Regions from separate parts of the Homo sapiens genome. Here all the other regions are linked to region 1. Evidence: promoter capture Hi-C in human tissues and cell types (Jung and others, 2019). All regions are on one chromosome and are shown on one strand. The core of a region is centred on a gene start or on the middle of the fragment in contact, and the rest is flanking DNA. Distances in the headings are between cores, read along the strand shown.

Region 1 (3,712 bases), core at 1,043-3,542:
TTGCCCCTAGTACCCCCTGGCAGGAGCAACCCACCCCATGGTCGAGGTTCCCCTACCCCTGGATCCTGGACTGAAGCCATTTCCTACAGAGAAGCGTTCCCACCCCCTCTCAGGCACAAAAGCCGGTGTCCAGGGACTCAAGACCTGTACCTGGGGTTGCAGGGGCTCCTGCCCTGCTGTATCCCACCAGGAGGGGGCCCCACTGCCCTTCCGGCCCTTAAAACTGGGCTGGGAGAGAAGATGGGGAAGTGTGTGAGACAAAACAAAGCCGGCTTGTTTCCTCCCCTTGGCAGGCTAAGCTCTCCCGGCAGCCCGGGCTCTGGGGCGGAAGGAGAACAGTGTCATCTCTTCCTTTGTTGATAAATTGCCAAAGAGTGGGAGCAGGTGGGGTCAGGGGCCAGAGTGCAGGGGAGGGGGCAATGGTGGAGGTGGCGGGGGGAAGCAGAGGGAGGTGGGCTGAGGCCTCGGTGGGGCCAGTGCGACGCTGGCTTAAGGAGCTGGAGGGGTTCCTAATACACATTTAATTCAGTTTCTCTTCCCTAAGAGGCTGCCGGAGTTGGGGCCTCCTCCAGCAGAGACCCTCGGACCCCTGCAGGGCCTGGACTTGGGGTGAACAGGGCTTCAGTCAGCGCAAGTATTCCATTTGCATTTGGTAATTTTTCATGCCACCTATTTATGAATATACAAATCTTTATACCAAATCTATTTTTTAAAACATGGAAAAGTTGCCTTTATGGAAACTTGGCAGAGCCAGAGTGTACACATTCCTAAACCATTAAACAGATTTCTATAACAAAAAAAAAAAAAAAATTTTGTAGAGATGGGGTTTCACCATGTTGCCTAGGCTGGTCTCAAACTCTTGGACTCAAGTGATCCGCCTGCCTCGGTCTCCTAAAGTGGTGGGATTACAGGCATGAGCCACTATGCCTAGCCTGGTTTGAGTAATATCTTGATGGTTGATGAAATATTTGATAATTGGATGAGAAGAGAACTGTGTTGTCTCCAGTGATGCTGCAAATGGGTGAGGAGAAATGCTGCCATTTGTGAGGTTTGTGGGCGGCAAGGTTGAAGAAGAGAATAATGAAAAAGCTAGCGTCATCCTCAAGGCCTGTTGATAGTCTTGATTATTGTTTTCTGTGTTTTTACCTCATGGTGCTCAATATGTATTTGTTCAGTGAGCAAATAAATGTAAGGTCAGATTCTGCAAACAAAAGTCAAAGAAATCTTACTTCCTGGAAAAGTTAGCCCAATTAAGTGCAGCTTTCCAGTCACCCCTCCTGGCTCCATTTTATTTCAGCTGTAAGGGATCCGAGAGACTTTAGCCCAAGGTGTTTCTTCAAAGCAATAAGTGGAAATGTTTCCCCACATTAAGACTGCACAGACGAACTGTCATGACCAGGCTCTTGGTCCCCTGTGGACGCATCCCACTTGGTGTCCTGGTTACCTGGGCTATCTTGGGCTGACCTCATCATTCTAGTAGTGATGGCCTGGCAGAGACATTAAAAGGCTTCTTCATGGAGTCTGGCTGGTTTCACATCCTGGCTTTGCTGGGTTAGATTGGAGAAGTGACTTAACTTCTTAGTGACTCCATTTGCTCATTTGTAAAATGGGTATAGTAATAGCTCCCGTCTCATAGGATCATTGTGAAGATTAAACAGAACAATCCAGGTAACGCATGCAGGAGGGTATCTTGCACACAATATGCAGTAAATGTTAGCCATTATGATGGAGATTATAGTTGTCTTTGATTAATGCAAATTAACAAATTTACTTACTAAATTTAATTTGACATTCTTTGAAAATATGCTCTCTCTCTCTCTCTCTCTCTCTGTGTGTGTGTGTGTGTGTGTGTGTGTATTGAAAGACAGAGAGAGACTGGTGTTTGGTGGTGAAAGTTTTGGGCCCACGTAGGCCAGCATCCTTTTCAGTTGAAGTTGTGCTTGTGGGAGGTGAAATGACTTGCCCAAGGCAATACCACTAGGAATAGCCCAGGTAAGTTTAAATACTATGTTTTTTGACTCTCAACCCAGTGACTTTTCCACTATATCTCATTTCCAGGCATTGCTGGTTCGTTTTTTTCGAAAATCATTCCAAATTATATTCCAATTCGACTTTCTTCAAGTTCATCCCAGAAAAGCAAAGGCCGGGCACTTGAACAAGAACAGCTGTCAGCCTGGGGCGAGGGGGCAGTGTTGGTGGGGGCTGGAGCGGGGCCGGACTCTAATTGGTCCACGGCCTCGGCCCGACTATCAAATCAGCAGAGCCTGCGTCATCACGTCGTTGCCTGGGCTGCCGTCCGCGGAAATTTGAAATGGCTGACGGGTCGCTGACGGGCGGCGGTCTGGAGGCAGCGGCCATGGCGCCGGAGCGCATGGGCTGGGCGGTGGAGCAGGAGCTGGCGTCTCTGGAGAAAGGTGAGCTCTCCATGCCGGGGCCGAGGAGCCGCCTCTGAGCGGAGGCCTGGGGCGTCGGGACCCTAGGAGGGCGCCTGGGTCGCGGGCCTTCCGGACCCGTCTGTCCAGGGTGGCGGGAACGGCGGTGCGCGGCCGGGACCCAGTGACGGGACCTCAAAGTCGGGCGGTACCCAGGGGTGGGGGACTCCCTCTCTTCCCTATCCGCATCTCCCACTCTCCCTGCACTCTCTGGCCTCCGCCCGCCCCGAGGTTGGAGGGAGCTGGATTGGGCCAGGAATTCCCTATCTGGATGGGTTTTGCGGGAACTGTGCATTTACTGTTGCTCAAGGGGCCATTTTTTCATCTGCATCTCAAAGGAGATCACGAACCACACTTCCCTTTTCCGAAGAAGAGAAAAGCTTGAACCCTTGGCTTAGATGGCTGTCCTGTGCACGGAGGGTAGTGACGTGTCCAAAGTGAGGAGCGCCAACTTGGGCCGGAGTCCAGAAATAGAACCGGGGTCTTCTAGTTCTCTGCCCTTTCTTCCTCCTCATAGAGTTTCATTACTATTTTTTTTTTCTGATATTTTAAGCTGGTTCATGTTTTTACGTTAACACTTTCGGTTGTATTGTGTAGCAGAGAGTCCCAACAAAGTGAGAAAACATAAGTGTGACAATTCCACTATTAACCCACCTATCCAACTGGCAAAAGTCACTTGGCTTCAGTTTTCCCATCTGGAAGACTATGCCAATGGTTGTACTTGTGGTGAAGTTGAAGTGAAATAAAGTTTTTAAAGTGGCTGCAAAAATAAATACTGCATGGCATCGCTTATATTGGGAATCTAAAAAAGAGGAAGTTTCAGAAAGAGAGTAGAGTGGTAGTTGCCAGTGGGTTGGGGGAATGGGGAGATGCTGGGCAAAGGGTCCAAAGTTTCAGTTATGCAGTGTGAATAGTTCTGGGGATCTGATGTACATACAGCATGGTGACTATAGTTAATAATACTGTATTATTATTACAGTATTAATAGGCAATGACGTGATGGTGCAATGCGACACAAATTTTGTACTTGAAATTTGCTAACAGAGTAGATCATAAGTGTTCACACCACACACACACAAAAGGTAACTATGCGAGGTGATGGAAATATTAATTCACTTTACTGTGGTAATCATTTCATAATGTATAGGTATATCAAAACATCATGTTACACACTTTATTTTTTATTTTATTTTATTTTTTTTGAGGCAGAGTCTCACTCTGTTGCCCAGGCTGGAGTGCAGTGGCACACAATGTCAGCTCACTGCAACCTCTGCCTCCCG
Region 2 (4,058 bases), core at 1,244-3,743, 39 kb after region 1:
TCTCCTTTACAAATTTTATGTGATTCCTGACAGTTTGATATTTAATTTTAACCATCTTGCTATAGATATTTTTAAACATAGTCGCCCCAAAATCTTTTTTTGCACATAACCCCAAACTGAAAATCTCTTAGAAGACACAATTAGCACATTTTTAAAATCCTCTCTACAAAAGAGTTAGATTGGTGTATACATATGGTTCAGGCATATGTACAGGGTTAAGTAATAATAAATGTTTTCTCATGGAATACTACTGCTACTAGAAAATTAACTGAACATACATGCATTAGATGTGTCATCAATGGTTACAGCAACTCTTCTTCATCGATGCTGTTGTGCATTAAATTATTCCCAAATGGTTGCTGAAATAACTATAGAGGTTTGAGTGAATCATTTTTGTTTTCCAGAGTGCCTTGCATAGCATTAGGAAAGAAATTCTTACTATTTTTATGTTTTTTGGTGCCATAAGGTATGAGAGAATAGTGTCATGTTTGATCTTTCTGGTTACTCTGTTTGAATGACACTTGAACTGGCTGCTGATGTTAACGTGTGTGGTAGGGAAAGCCATTGTTGGACTCATAGAAATGATTTTTAAGTTGGGTTGGGGTATTTTAAAACTGACACGTTTTGGAAAATGTGGGGTCTTGTTTCTATCCTCAAATTACAATATTTTACTAAATTCAAATACTTATCTCCAACTAATTGAGTATCTGAGAGAATGGTCATTTTGAATAAGTGTGTCTTTCAACAAAATTGTTAAATGACTTTTTTTTTTTCTTGGCAGAATCAGAAAACATTTATCTAGAATGAAAGAGAGTAGAGCAAGAATCAAGTGTTGGCACTCTTAGCGTGTGTGTGTGTGTGTGTGTGTGTGTGTGTGGTTTTGAAAATGATAAATTGTCAACAACTTGCTAGAAATGGAACAAATGGAAATGTTGATTAAAAATGGCTGGTAAAACTTATCTGTAAAGTACTTTATCTTTGTGCTGTACATTTGTACTGTGTTAAAGGCTAAGAAGTAATTGTAATAAACTCTTATAGTCTTGCCTTTTAAAAACTGATTGTCATTATCTCAAACTGTGACTCACAGGGTGCTGGTATAGAAATCTACCCTGGGAGTCAGTGCACCCTGAGTGACAATGGGATCCATCACTGCAAGGAAGGGATCCTCATTAAGGTGAGCATCAGCCAAAACACCCACTTTTCAATGGATAGAATGGTTTTACCTACAAATTATGCTTTATTAAATTGTTGGGTTCTATTTTCTGGTTTTGAAAAGCATAAACAGTGTACACATTTTGATAATATCAGTGATTGGAATCTCTTGTGAGAATGCTGTTACCTATAGATCTGCAGAAATGACAGAGGAAAGCTGTGTCACTAAGGGTGCAGACTGTGCTACAACATGGGACTAAACATAGCTTTTTCCTTTTATTTTTAGAATAGTGTGAATAAAGAAGATTTTTAAGGCAGGAAATGTTGAATATGACAGTTCCTAAAACATTTGTTTTCAATGTCACAGGACTTCTTAGATGAACATTATGACATTCCCAAGATATCCATGGTGAATAATATAATACATAATAATGAAGGTTATGGTGTTGTCTTGGTGAAACCTACAATCTTCTCTGACCTGCAAGAAAATGCTGAAGATGGAACTGAAGGTATATTTAGTAATTTTTAATATAAAAACCAGACATAATTTATTTCAGCATTAAATGCTGATTAAGGATCTGAGTCTTCCTCTCTTCCTTAAAAAAGGTTGTTGGGATATGCTTGGGCATGGAGAGAGAGAAGCTTGGTAACATTAAGTCATAACATTACAGACTGTGAAAGAAACTTTCAAGGTCAACTAGTTCAACTGTCATTCAAAATCTTGATGTTGTGGTTTCTGTGCAGTTCCCTTCTTATCATGGTTAGCTTTCAATGAGGGTGGATGTGTGATAGCAACGATGGGTGTGTGATAGCAATGGTGGGTGTGTGATGCTATGGTGGGTGTGTGACAGCAACAGTGGGTGTGTGACAGCAATGGTGGCTCCTACTGGCGTTTGTTAAGGCTGGAGACAGTGAAATGAATGTGCCAGGCTGAAGGCTGCATTTCCTGGAGGGGATAGTGGAGTTTACCTCTGTTTTTATTGGTAGAAGTAAATGCCTTCCTGTCACCTGCCTTTCTTGGCAGCGAAGGGGAGCTAACTCAGTGGAAATCTGTGAACTTCAAGCTATGATGTAGACCACTATTAAGTCTCAGTCATAGAGAAGGATTAAGCTTTGATGTAGGTGAGGAAAGTTTAAAGCAGTTTATTTATTTAATCAGCTTTTTCAGGTTGAAAGAGTTTAAAGGGTAGTCCTTGTCATCCTTCAGGATCTGCTCCAGTTACATCTCTGCAAGTTCTTTATTTCTTCACAGGTCTCACAAAAGTAAAATAAAGGTGTCAGCTGGGCAGGACTCATCTGAAAGCTCTGGGGGCAGACTCTGTCTCCAAACGCATTCATATCATTCATGGGCAGAATTCATTCCTTTAGCTCATGGGTCTGAAGTCTCCATTTTCTTGCTGGCTGCTGGCTGTTTGCTGGGGCTGGCACTCAGCTCCTAGAGGCTGCTCTCAGGTTCTTGCCTCATGGCCCCCCCATCTCAGCAACAGAGAACATCCCTCAAGGCAAATCTCTCATGCTCTGAATTTCTCTGACTTCCTCTTTAGCAACCAGCTGGAGAAAACTGATTAGCAATCTTAATTACATTGTAAAATTACAGTGCAAAATTCTTCTGCCATTTAATAGGCATGAAAGTAATACCAGGGGGTGGGGATCATGGGGCCTATCTAGAATTAGCTGCTAGATTGGGACTTCATTTAGAAAAGTGGCACTATCTTATCAATCTGTGCATCCTATCTCCTAACGCAGTGCTTAGCAGATAGTAACTATCCAGGAAATGTCTGTTGAGTAAAAGTGATTCTGGGATGAAAAGGGTAAAGGAAGAGTTCAAAATTGGTGATCCTGTGTGAGGGTCAGGGAACCTTGGTATAGAAAGCAAGGCAGCTGCTTGTTGAGAAGACTGTGTAGAAATATATGTTTTTGTTGGGTTAGCTTGTATATTTAACTTTGTTATTATTTGTTTGTTTCTCCAGAAAATAAAGCGCTTAAAATTCAGACAAGTGGAGAGCCAGATGTGGCTGAAAGAGTGGATCTAGAAGAGCTGATTGAGTGTGCAACTGGTAAAATGGAGCTTTGTGCAAGAACTGACCCTTCTGAGCAAGTCGAGGGAAATTGTGAAATTGTAAATGAACTAATTGCTGCCTCCACACAGAAAGGCCAGATAAAGAAGAAAAGGTTGAGTGAACTGGGGATCACGCAAGCTGATGACAACTTAATGTCACAGGAGATGTTTGTTGGGATTGTGGGGAACCAGTTCAAGTGGAATGGGAAAGGTAGTTTTGGCACATTTCTTTTCTGACTACAGTGATGTAAGTAGATAGCAAAATACTGGATTTTGCACATGCTGCCCTAAGAATCACTGCTGCCATTGTAGTTTGCTGTATTGTCTGTATTTTATATTTGATTATTTGGGCTTGAGTGAAAGGTAGATTTATTTCCATTTGCAGGTGTTGCACATAAAACACTCCCTCTTTATAAGAAAAATCATAAATGCATATAAAATAGAAAATATTTGGAGATTGCTTATCTGAAAGTCTTGCTTTCTTATACACATGGTTCTCTCATATTAAGCCTGGTAGTAACTTTTTAGTGTAATTACCTTTAGCACTTCAAAGACGAGGAAGTAAGGAAGGGAATGCAAGACTAGTGCATAAAAATGCAATAGGTGTCATATGTACAGCATTCTTCTTAGAGTTGCCTTTTCATCCCAATTACAGTGAGTCTGATTTCCATCCTGTATTTGCATAATACTTGTCTTAAAATAAAAGCTTTTATGATTGGGAATTTATCTGCCTAATCAGACTTATTATTGAGACGTCAATGGGACGCATTTTTCTGTTGAGCTATGCAGTCGTCAAAACAGCGATAGACAGCATAGGAGGTTTGAAGCAGAAATGAAATGTGTTATT
Region 3 (3,910 bases), core at 1,137-3,636, 51 kb before region 1:
CAGGTCAGTACCACCCTGGGCAACATGGTGAAACCCCATCACTACAGAAAACACAAAAATTAGCTGGGTATGGTGGCACATGCTGTTAGCCCCAGCTACTCAGGAGGCTGAGGTGGAAGGAGGATAGCCTGAGCTCAGCAGGTGGAGGTTTCATTGAGTGGAGAGTGCGTGACTGCACTCCAGCCTGGGCGACAGAGCGAGACTCTGTCTCAAAACAAAACAAAACAAAACAAAAAAAACAAAAACCTTTTGGGCTCATACAAAATATAGAAAAGCAATAAAGAATAAGATGTCATCCATGATCTCACTACCCAAACCCTGTATCTTTTAAAATAAAGGGGTGTTTTTTTTTTTTTTAGATTAGCTTTATTTGCTCACCGTGAAGATGGACCTGGAATCCCAGCGGATATTAAACTTTTTGATATATTTTCACAGCAGGTGGCTACAGTGATACAGGTTTGTGTAGCATTTCTCCTAAGTTCTCAAAACTTTGAAACTTCTCTGCCTTCCTTTTACAATTGTTTAAAATAAATTGTGTGGTTTTCTAAACATTCCAGTCTAGACAAGACATGCCTTCAGAGGATGTTGTATCTTTACAAGTCTCTCTGATTAATCTTGCCATGAAATGTTACCCTGATCGTGTGGACTATGTTGATAAAGTTCTAGAAACAACAGTGGAGATATTCAATAAGCTCAACCTTGAACAGTAAGTCAGTTACATTTTTGTAAAAATCCTCAAAGATATTTTTGTCCTAGATTTGCTTTTCTTTCTCAATTGTTTTTTGAACTGCTGGCATTTGTCTTGTTTTAATCATGCATTAAGATTGTCATGCTTAGCACTACTAGGGGCAGAAAGTAGTGACCAATTACTTGTTTTTTTATATTAAGGAAATTGTGGTACCTATGGACCATAGGCAGTCTTCAGGGACCAGTGTCTCCAATTTGGATCCCTTTCTGTGTGTCAGGGGCATCCAATCTTTTGGCTTCCCTGGGCTGCACTGGAAGAAGCATTTTCTTGGGCCACACATAAAATACACTAACACTAACAATAGCTGATGAGCTTAAAAAAAAAATCCCAAAAAAACTCATAATGTTTTAAGAAAGTTTACGAATTTGTGTTGGGCCGCATTCAAAGCCATCCTGGGCTGCATGCGGCCTGTGGGCTTTGGGTTGGACAAGCTTGCATGTGACTGAGTTTGTTCTTAAACTGGTAAGGAAACTTTGTCAGGCAGTATTTATTTCCATAAGTGGTGTTTTCCTACGAATCAGCACATGGTGAAAAATGAGGGGCTATGTATATTTAAGGTGCAGAATTAAATTGGTTTAAATATCTTTTCTATTTTGAGCTTTGATTTTGATACCTTAAAGGAAATATCAACAGTACTATTTCCAACCTGAAGCCTCCTCAGCTGTTCTGTCCTAGACTTATGGCGTCCTCTAGTGGCCACTATGGGCAGCTATGATCCTGTTACCTTCCCCAGCAGTTCCCTTCCTGCCCTGTTCCCCACTGCTCTGGCTTGGGTCAAGCCAGGCCTGCCTCCCGCCAACATATTCTTCAGAATTTTACCTCATGTAATCTTCCTCCTTTCTATCTCCCTTCCAGTGGTTTACCTGCATCAAGAAAATTTCTTCTTTTTTTCCTCCCTTTGTGTTACCCTTGTTCTTTTGGTCATTTTTGGTTTTGTGTGTGTGCAAACTGAAAACAAGTCCAGATGTGGAATGATAAGTGTGAGAGAAAATTAAATGATGTGCCAGGTGTGGTGGCTTGCACCTGTAATCCCAGCTATTCAGGAGGCTGAATTGGGAGAATCACTTGAGTCCATGAGTTTGAGAACAGCCTGGGCAACATAGCGAGACCCCGTCTCTAATAAAAAATAAAATTAAAAATAAAAAAAATTTAAATTAAAAAAACTAAATGATGTATCTGTGTCTTTCTCCCCAAGTGAATTTTAAAGTAAAAATAGACAAAGTAATTAGAAATAACAACCTCTAAAGAGGTTGTAATAAATGCCCCAATATGCCTCAATATCTACAGAATGATTTTACTAACAACTACGTAAAAGTCAGTCAGCCTGCTTTTCCTTAATCACCAACATCTGATGCAGAAGAAATAGTTTATGTGTTTTTCTGTTGTGTCAAATTGCTGGTTTTGCATGGAGTTTTTTTCCTATTTATTTTCATCATGAATATACAATACTTGTTGGCTGGCCCCTGGGAACCAAACTACCACTTAAAATACTTCCCTTAGAAATGTCATCAAATTCTAGACAGTCATCTTAACTCCAGCTATACCATCTGTTCATGAGTTGGAAACTGTATCTAGTTTTGTATCAACAGAAAAATAATAGATGAATATATATTTGTGTTTAGATAAGCATTTTTATCCTCCTGAAAGGAGGTTGTTATAGTCTTCTGTGGTGGTATGATTCACTTGACCCATTTCCTTTAATGTGTAATGAAAAATTTCAAATTCTTATGGAACAAATGCTATTTGTGTATATAGAAAGTTAATTTTATTCATTAAGACTTCTGTTTTTCTTTTTGTAGTATTGCTACCAGTAGTGCAGTTTCAAAGGAACTCACCAGACTTTTGAAAATACCAGTTGACACTTACAACAATATTTTAACAGTCTTGAAATTAAAACATTTTCACCCACTCTTTGAGTACTTTGACTACGAGTCCAGAAAGAGCATGAGTTGTTATGTGCTTAGTAATGTTCTGGATTATAACACAGAAATTGTCTCTCAAGACCAGGTAAGAGAATACCTACGTGCTATTTTAGGGAAACAGTGTTACAATTTTAGACTTTGGACCTAGATACCTGAGATGGGAGGGGAGGGTAATTCAATACTAAATAAAATTTACAAGTAACTTTTTCATTATATAAATTAAAAATTGGAGATGTATAAAGAATTATAAAACATTTATAATTCCACCAGATAGAGAATAACCACTGTTAATTAACATTTGGTGCATATCTTTCCAGACTTTTGTCTGTATATGTGTGTATGACATACATGTGTATCGACTTTCTCACCAAAAAAAGGAATATCTTGTTGATACTGTATTGTAATTTTATAACTGGAAACACTTTTGATAATGGCTTTGTATGCCAATGGTTTCACCTCAGTGGGTTTCTTGTGCCTCGCATGTTACAGGTGGATTCCATAATGAATTTGGTATCCACGTTGATTCAAGATCAGCCAGATCAACCTGTAGAAGACCCTGATCCAGAAGATTTTGCTGATGAGCAGAGCCTTGTGGGCCGCTTCATTCATCTGCTGCGCTCTGAGGACCCTGACCAGCAGTACTTGGTATGAGTTTACCCTTAGTATATCCCTGTATCAGCTCCTAGTGAAATCACATGTTCAAGTGCTTAAAATGGTTTAATTCACTTTCTGGTCTTAGATGGTTTTGAAGGAATTGCAACTGAATTAAAGATTCACTTGAACCTGGGAGGCGGAGGTTGTAGTGAGCCGAGATTGTGCCACTGCACTCCAGCCTGGGCAACACAGCGAGACTCCATCTCGAAAAAAAAAAAGATTCATGGCATCCATGGGCTTTTACTTTATATATAAACACATAATTGTTTGTAAACTTCTGGAGCATGTGAGTAACAATTCAGTTGCTCTGATTTCTTTTGAAGACTCTCTGAGAATTACAAAAAAGTCTGTCTTCTTTTGCTTGAGTGCCGATAATTATTCCATGTTCATTTTTTCTGAACTATGTATTGCTTATAATAAACTTTATAAGAAATACAATTCTTATATTTAATTTTACTTTTCCAAATTTGCAAGTATAAATTATATTTGTCATATTGAAAATGTGAGTTTTTGTTTTTTGATGAAAGATTTAAAAATTCATTTTGCCTTTTTCTTAACTTTTTTTTTTCTGATAAAGAACAATCAC

What was found. The method cuts DNA at HindIII sites, captures the fragments that hold promoters and counts their contacts. A contact is called where the count stands out against the background at its distance.
Region 2: a contact is called between a fragment that was not itself captured here and the fragment with the promoter of SHCBP1 in region 1, in 1 of the 25 tissues and cell types used here (H1 embryonic stem cells).
Region 3: a contact is called between a fragment that was not itself captured here and the fragment with the promoter of SHCBP1 in region 1, in 1 of the 25 tissues and cell types used here (H1 embryonic stem cells).

What each region holds. Positions count from the first base shown.
Region 1 is chr16:46,619,959-46,623,670 of GRCh38, reverse strand. SHCBP1 (SHC binding and spindle associated 1) reads left to right here and starts at 2,292. Exons shown (of 13, transcript NM_024745.5): 1 at 2,292-2,414. The coding sequence starts at 2,312. It also overlaps the pseudogene RAB43P1. RefSeq lists enhancers at 1,974-2,560, 2,561-3,149. The HindIII fragment of the contact is 15,901 bases long and covers 1-3,712 here.
Region 2 is chr16:46,581,119-46,585,176 of GRCh38, reverse strand. SHCBP1 (SHC binding and spindle associated 1) reads left to right here. Exons shown (of 13, transcript NM_024745.5): 11 at 1,088-1,174; 12 at 1,520-1,661; 13 at 3,123-4,058. The coding sequence ends at 3,448. Among named protein-coding and RNA genes, the nearest start is that of SHCBP1, 38 kb to the left of the region's middle. The HindIII fragment of the contact is 4,695 bases long and covers 146-4,058 here.
Region 3 is chr16:46,671,110-46,675,019 of GRCh38, reverse strand. VPS35 (VPS35 retromer complex component) reads left to right here. Exons shown (of 17, transcript NM_018206.6): 9 at 360-456; 10 at 558-706; 11 at 2,548-2,755; 12 at 3,160-3,315. Among named protein-coding and RNA genes, the nearest start is that of VPS35, 16 kb to the left of the region's middle. RefSeq lists a silencer at 1,364-1,533. The HindIII fragment of the contact is 3,907 bases long and covers 433-3,910 here.